2 separate regions of the Homo sapiens genome follow, and region 2 is linked to region 1. Evidence: promoter capture Hi-C in human tissues and cell types (Jung and others, 2019). All regions are on one chromosome and are shown on one strand. The core of a region is centred on a gene start or on the middle of the fragment in contact, and the rest is flanking DNA. Distances in the headings are between cores, read along the strand shown.

Region 1 (3,677 bases), core at 741-3,240:
GTGCCCCTGACTGAGCAGAAGCCCCCACAGCTGGCCAGCAGCCCCGCCTGACATGGAACAGAACGGAGCCATCCCCCAAGACCCTGTCCAAGGCCCAGATGTTAGCCAAGGACTTGTCCCACCTGAGGACAAAGCTGGCGCTCAAGGTCACCTGTTTAATGCCAAGATAACAAAGCGCTGATCCAAGTTGCTCTGTAGGAATTTCTGTGACTTTTTTCTGGGGTCAAAGAGAAACCCCGAGACACTGTACACTGTTCCTTTTCACCCACCACCCCGATCCCTAGGTGAGGAGAAGCGGCTTGAAGCAGGGCTCCATTCATTCAACACACATGACCACCCGTGTGATCTTGAACAAGAGGCCCAATCTCACTTCGCCTTGGTTTCCTTATCTGTAAAATGAGACCATCTTATTGCTGACTTCAAAGGGCTGTTGTGAGGATTAAATGAGATGATTCGTCTGAACTGATTAAAATCGTGTCTGGCACTGAGTAAATACCCTCTATCTCTGGATCCCAGTTAAAGGACCTAACAGACACTAGATTACCAAGAATGGCTTTTTCTTTAAGGTTTAGTTCTGGGCCGGGCATGGTGGCTCACACCTGTAATCCCAGCACTTTGGGAGGCCAAGGCGGGCGGCTCACTTGAGGTCAGGAGTGCAAGACCAGCCTGGCCAACATGGTGAAACCCCATCTCTACTAAAAATACTAAAAAAATTTAGCCGGGCGTGGTGGCACACGACTGTAATCCTAGCTACTTGGGAGGGTGATGTGGGAGGATCGCTTGAACTTAGGAGGCAGGAGTTGCAGTGAGCCGAGATCGCGCCACTGCACTCCAGCCTGGTGACAGAGCAAGACTCCATCTCAGAAAAAAAAAAAAAAAAAAAAAGATTTAGTTCTGGGCTTCCTGGTAGCCATGGCAAAAAGGCAAATACTGTCCTTTCCTTAGCCAGGTCCCTGATATACAGCAGAGGCTGGAACTCTGAGCTGCTTTGATTTTACCAAAAAGCCAAGACAACCTGTTGGAAGCCTATGGGTTTACCATTGAGGCTGCAGGAATCTAGTTCCTAATTATCTTCAGAGACCACAAAATGTGATGTTCAAGGTCGCTGAATGTTGAAGTACATGAACCTGGCTCGTGAGACCTAAATATTGTACTGGTGGTGGGGGGGAAGGGTCATTGGAATCTGTGGTTAGCCTGATCTTGACCTGGGAGGGAAGGTTGTCCAGATCTCTGGGACTTTGGAGGACAGGACGTTGAGCACCCATAACTGGGAGCAAGAAGTGGGAGGCTCATTGAGACCCCAGCATTGTTTGGGAGGGACACTGGATTTTGTAATGCTAAAGAACTTACCCTGGGAGACCCCTGAAACTTCACATTCCTGGATCTGGAGGCACTAGGAATGTGGTGATGTGTACCCCAAAATTTTATTATGAAAGGAACAGTAGCTTTGGGGACCTAGGTCCTGGGTCTGGGAGTGCAAGAACCAGGGCATTCTGAAGGCCAAGGCTTATATTTCAGGGGGAACTGGCAGCTGAGATGCTAGTATCTTGGCTCCGAGTGGTGCAGGGAATCAGAGCCCTAACTGCTGGTGTTTGAGGGCACCAGGTCTGGGGGTGCAGGGCCTTAATTGAGACTGAGGTATATGGGGCTTTGTACCAGGGGTCACTGATTCCTCCGTCTTCCTGTTTCTGCTTCCCCTCAGTCCCCCCTTGCCTCACTGGCTGCTCCCCAGAGCAAAGCCCCAGAGCCACAGGCCCTGCCCCACCTGGCTTCAACCCCAGGAATGCGTCCAGCGTGATCCAGGGCCTGCAGAACAGGTGCTGGTTCTCCCTCCCCGTCTACAGCTCTGGGGATCGGAGGGGGGGGGGGCAATTGTCCAGCCCCCAGGCAACAGGGGAAGGGCCTTGGCCAACATCTGGGTGCCAGCAGGGCAGGGGTGGGGCTCTGAGGGGATAAGGGCTTTTAAAAGCCTCCCCAGGGAGGTTCCCCAGTTCCTCCACCTGCTGGCCCCTGGACACCTCTGTCACCATGTGGTTCCTGGTTCTGTGCCTCGCCCTGTCCCTGGGGGGGACTGGTGAGACAGTGGGGGGATGTGGGAGGGGGAACGGGCCCTGATTCTCTTGCTGGCCTCACATCCCCCCCCGATAAGACCTTCCCCTCCAACACCCCACCCTCATCCCTCTGGCCCACAGTCTATCCTAGTCCGGGGTGCCCCGGCTCTTATCTATCTTGCGCGGCCCCACCCTAAACTTCCACCCCCGCTCCTCCATGTTGTCATAGTGCTCACTCCCACACCAGATTCCTGCTCCTCCCAGGAAGCCTCAGTACTTTCTCCTCTTCCCTAGCCAACGCCCTGTCCCACCGCTTTACCAAAGGGGCAGATTCTGGGCCATCTCTGTCTCTCTCTGGAGGACCCCAACCCTCCCATGGGCTTCCCCCACCCCACAGGACTCTGATCATCCCCTCCTGCCCCCTAGTTCCCTGCGGCCACCTATTTGGCTCCTGAGTCTACAAATCCCACCACACTCCAGTGACTTTTTCCATCCAGCTGTCCGCTCTCAACTGTGTCCTCCAGACCCTGACATCTGGTCTCCCCAGTCCTTCCAGGGTCCCCCAAATTTCACCAGAAAACCCTGCTTCCCAAACTGGCATGTGGGATCCCCCATCTGGTATGGGGGGGGGTCTGCAAATGTCCCTTCCCACCCAGCACCCCCAGCTCTCCCAGGAAAAACACCACACCCTCCCACCACATGCTCCTTTCCTTGGGGAAGTTCCATCCCGCCCCAGGCCCCAGCCCTTCTCTGCCTGAATTGTTCCTACACAGCTCTGGTTTTCTGGAACCCCACCCCAAGGATCCTGAATGCCTTCTCAGCCAGCGCTTCTGCCCTGGCCTCCCCCAAGTCAGTATGTGATTCTACAACCTCACGTCAAGTGGGTCCTGCATTGCATTCCCACAGCTGCTTGGCGCCTGTTCTCACCACTTCTCCAATCCTCTTCCTAGGATTGCCTCCAAGAGGACCCCATATCCTTCCAGTACCCTCAGACCATGAACCCCATCCCCATGAGAAACGAAGATCCCATCCTTCACCCTGTCCGAGAAGGACTGCCACTCACGCCTCCCTCCTCCTGAGCCCCGTCCCAGTCCTGACCGCAACTGTGTTCTCAGGGCCCCAACCTCCCCTCAGATTGCCATTCCTGGTTCACAGGAAGGACCCCAAAACCTCTCGGAAGCCCACCTCTAGCCTTAACCATAGCCCTTTCTTTTACCCTTTAACCAGGAAGCCCTGAAATCTAACTGTCCCAGCCAAGCTGGCCCCTTCCAACCCCAATGTAGGGACCCCAAGTCACCCCCAAACTCTTCAGTCCAGATGCTCTTCTTTACCTCTCAGACCTGGTTCCCTAAAGCTGCATCCTTTCCTGAACCTCAAAAGCCCAACCCAGGTCCTGTTTCCCTAGCCTAGGAGCCCCTTAGCCCTCCAGATTCTTCCTCAGTGAGCCTCTGATCCTGTCCCACCCTTGGCGCCTTGATCCCTGGTTTCCAGAATCCCTTTCCACTCCCCTAACCCACCACCTCCCATCCCCCAGCCCCAGACCCCAAATGACCTGACGCCCAGATGCAGTGTCTGCTCCAGACACTGTCTCCTGTCTCCTACCCTGATCCCTGGAGGCTGCTCTAC
Region 2 (3,658 bases), core at 430-2,929, 400 kb after region 1:
AAACAAATTACAAATTGGTGGCGGAAAATATCAGAGAAAGGTATTGACTGAGAAGGGACAGGAAGGAATATTTCAGAGATTGAAATGTTCGGTATCTTGATCTGGCTTGTGGCTACACGGTGTATAGATAATGCAAAAACACAAGATTTGTCACTTTACTGACTTGTTAGTTACACTTCAATTAAAAAACAAACAAACAAAAACAAACAAAAAAAACATGGCTGGGGTGTGAATGTGGAGGGGCATAAACAGGGGCTTTCTTTCAACCACATCAGTAAGATTTGATTACTCAGACTGGATTGTGGGTTCAAGGGTGTTGGGTATAGTATTCCGTATCTGAACTGTTAGAGAACACAATTTTTAAAAATACGAACAAAAAGAAGGAAAGGAACATGAAAATACATTGTCTGAATATGGGATGGGCAGAGAGAGATACAAAGCCACAAGGAAGTGGATTCAAGCCTGAGAGGGGGAGAGAGACATCAAAAATACGGATGCGGGGTAGCAGGAGATACCAAGGGGGAGCTCAGAAACAAAGTGACAGGAAGAGGTGGGAGGGGAAACTGAGGCAGGAAGCAAATGACTTCTCTGAGGGAGGTCACTGTGGGCCACCCCTCCCTGGCCCCCAGGGGCCCCAACTCACCAGACAGCTGAAGTGTGGCCCGTCGAGCCTGGAGGGGGAGAGACACAGGGGCATGCTGAGGCTGCCTCCAGCCACCTGAATCTCAAAGTGGTTGGGGGCTGATGGGGAGGCGGCAGCAGCTGTGACCACCGCAGCCCTGTGTGAGGGACCAGCCCCACCACATTCACCGGACTCCCCCACTACCCCCTGCTGGGACAGGAAGTGGGGGGTGGGGGGGAGGCAAATGTCCCCCTCCTCCCCAGAATTTGCATAGACACCCTGGTGGGGAGGGGCAGGGAAAGTGAGGGAGAGAAAGTCCCGGAAAGGAGGTGTGGGGATGGAGAGGGGGCCTGGGTCAAGTGCGGCCTTGGTGGCGAGTCAGTTGAGTCCAGCTTGGACCAGAGGAGAAGGATGGAGAGATGTCTGGGTAGAGAGGGGGAAGCCCGGAGAAGACTCAGATGAGGAGGCTCAAGGAGAGGTGGGACACAGAGAAAGGTGTGCAAAGGGACATTCACGCACAGAGGCGGGGAGGATTCCTGGAGCCCCAGATGGAGGCACTGAGAGTGAGGGTGAGGCAGAAGGAGACCAAAAGGCAGGGAGAGCGAGAACTGGAGACAGAGACACAGAGACAGGCAGAGAGACAGAGAGCAACAGGCAGAATGTTGAGAGCTGGGAGATGCCAGATACAGAGCGAACAGATACGGGAACTCGGGGAGACAGGAGGATGGACAGAGTGAGAGCCACGGAGGACGCCCGCAGGAGGGCACGCTAGCAAGTGTTCTGGGGAAATGAGATCTTTGGGGACCAGGAAAGATAGGAACTGGGGGGATGGAGAGTCCGAAGTGAAGAGGGAACAGAACCAGAAGGGGCAAGAGACAGGGTGGACCCCTCCCCTCCACTCCCACCCACCGGCCGTGAGGAGCAGAGAAACCACTGCCCATGGGTGAGGCCCCACAGAGGGGCAGTGCAGGTGGGGACCCCGGGTGCAGGTTTGGGGGCCCTCACTTACTGTGCAGCCTCCAGGGCGAGCATGGTGGTGCCGGGCGGGCTGTTTGCCGCCCGCTGCAGCCGCCAACCCTATTTATATCTTGGCCCAGCCCCTGCCGGGGGGAGGAGGGTGCCCGCTGGCCACAAGCTCGGCCCTCCTCAAAAATCCCCTCAGGGAGGGGGTCAGGGGAGGGGGCTGGATTGCACAACCCCTTTGTCACATGGCAGGGATGGCGGGCCAGGGGCTGTCTGGATTTGGGGATCCCCGTGGGGCTGGGTTTGGGGGGCTGACCTTGAGGGCTGGAGATGGGACAGGAGCTGGATTTGGGGGAACCCTGAAAACATCGAGGAAGGGCTGGGGTTCACTGAAGAGGAGAATCAGGAAACGGAGGATCTGGACCCAGGAGCCGAATTCCAGCAGGGGCGGGCTGGGGGCCGAGGGGCAAGCACAAGACTCTCCCCGGGGGATGTGTGAGGTGACGGGAGGGCCGAGGGCATCTGACGGCAGTTAGAGGCTGCGGGGATAGAGATGGGAGTCGCTGGGGGGAAACCCAGACCCAAAGCCCATTGCCAGGACCCCGACGTGGAAACATCGTGGGTGTGTGGTCCGGCGGGGGATGGGGGGGTCCCCTTGGCCGGGCTGAGGAGTGGAAGCCCCGGTGCGCCTGGGGCTGCCCCAGGGCCTGGAGGAAACAGGTCAGCACCTGGAGGGCGGGGCAGCCACCAGGGTCCCCAGGGTCATCACCAGGGAGGGCTGGGCCGGGGCCAGACACCTGGGGGCCCTAAGCAGGGCAGAGAAGCGCTGGTATAAGGGTTCCTTCAGGGCCAGAGAGGAAACTGAGGCAGGCTTGGCCCACATGAACCAGGCAGCACAGGTGGGAGTCCGGGGGCTTTTGCTGAGGATGAGGGGCGGTGCGGGCCTCAGGAGGGTCCCAGCCAAGGCCAGGGCTTATGAAACCAGACAGTGTCCCCCAGAGACCACAAAGCACCATATAGCAAAAGTCCAGAACTTTATTAATTCTCCCTGGTCCCGCCCCCGCCCCATGGGATGCTTGCAAGGTCACCAGGCCTCAGGTCCAGGGGGTCCGAAGCGCCGCAGGAGCTGCTCCTGGTCTTCCAGGTCCTTCCGCACCTTCTTGCGCATGTAGAAGATGGGGCAGTCCCGGCTGCGGGTGGGGGCAGGGGCAGGGTCAGGACCAGCCAAGGCCCAGTGCCCAGCCTGGGAGAGGGGTGGGGGCTGTTCCCAGGACTTTGGTCCCCGCCTGCTGCCCAGCCCACCCGCCCCCTCCCGCAGCGGGCTGTTTGCTCAGCAGGCACGGGGGGGGTGGGGGGGGGGAGCCGATAACAGCGGGTGCCTGGCGAGGTGCAGGGCCATGGCTGGCCGTATATCACCTGTCACCTGGCGTGGGAACCCACCCCGCCTACCCGTTCCCTGGGGAAAGCCCGGCCCCGCCCTGGGGAGGGGGCCAGGCTGGCTGGGTGTGTCGGGAGGACAGCCGTTTCCCGGGCAACACTGGGTGCCGGGCGCTGCCTCCCTAAGCACCCACCCCCTCTGGGGGGCTGGGATGGGCCCATTTTTCAGACAAGGACACTGAGGCTCAGGACAGCTCACAGCTGGAAGGGGATGGGCGGGGAGGATGCTCAGGAGAGGCCTTGGAGTCAGAGGTTGGGTCCACAACCCACAGGCCTGGGAGCTGGGAAGGGGCGGGGCAGCCCAGGGTCGGGACATGGCACACACCTGGTGCAGATGACGTCCTCGTGCAGGCTGCCCTGGCAGCGCTGGCACTGCGTCCAGAGGCGCGAGAAGCGCTCCTCCAGGGCATTCAGATGGGATACCTGGGGACGGCAGCGGCTGAGCAGGGCGCCCCCGCCTCCCCACCTGGCCCCTCCTCACCTCCCGGCCCTCTCACCTCCTTCTGATACAGCTCAGACTCCCGGGGCTGGCAGAACTCACACACGGCTCCTGTGGGGAGGCGGGTCAGCCCAAGTGCTGGGGCCCAGCCAGGAACTGGGCCACCCCATCCCTGCCCACTGCCAATCCCAGCTTCT

The links. The method cuts DNA at HindIII sites, captures the fragments that hold promoters and counts their contacts. A contact is called where the count stands out against the background at its distance.
Region 2: a contact is called between the fragment with the promoter of SPIB here and the fragment with the promoter of KLK1 in region 1, in 1 of the 25 tissues and cell types used here (IMR-90 fibroblasts).

What each region holds. Positions count from the first base shown.
Region 1 is chr19:50,822,100-50,825,776 of GRCh38, reverse strand. KLK1 (kallikrein 1) reads left to right here and starts at 1,990. Exons shown (of 5, transcript NM_002257.4): 1 at 1,990-2,074. The coding sequence starts at 2,029. It overlaps KLK15 (kallikrein related peptidase 15), which reads left to right. Exons shown (of 6, transcript NM_017509.4): 6 at 1-488. The HindIII fragment of the contact is 15,345 bases long and covers 1,151-3,677 here.
Region 2 is chr19:50,416,959-50,420,616 of GRCh38, reverse strand. SPIB (Spi-B transcription factor) reads right to left here and starts at 1,679. Exons shown (of 6, transcript NM_003121.5): 1 at 1,632-1,679; 2 at 644-671. The coding sequence starts at 1,654. It overlaps POLD1 (DNA polymerase delta 1, catalytic subunit), which reads right to left. Exons shown (of 27, transcript NM_002691.4): 25 at 3,520-3,572; 26 at 3,348-3,445; 27 at 2,603-2,775. The coding sequence ends at 2,670. RefSeq lists an enhancer at 783-832 and silencers at 2,372-2,540, 2,823-2,882, 2,913-3,052. The HindIII fragment of the contact is 45,060 bases long and covers 1-3,658 here.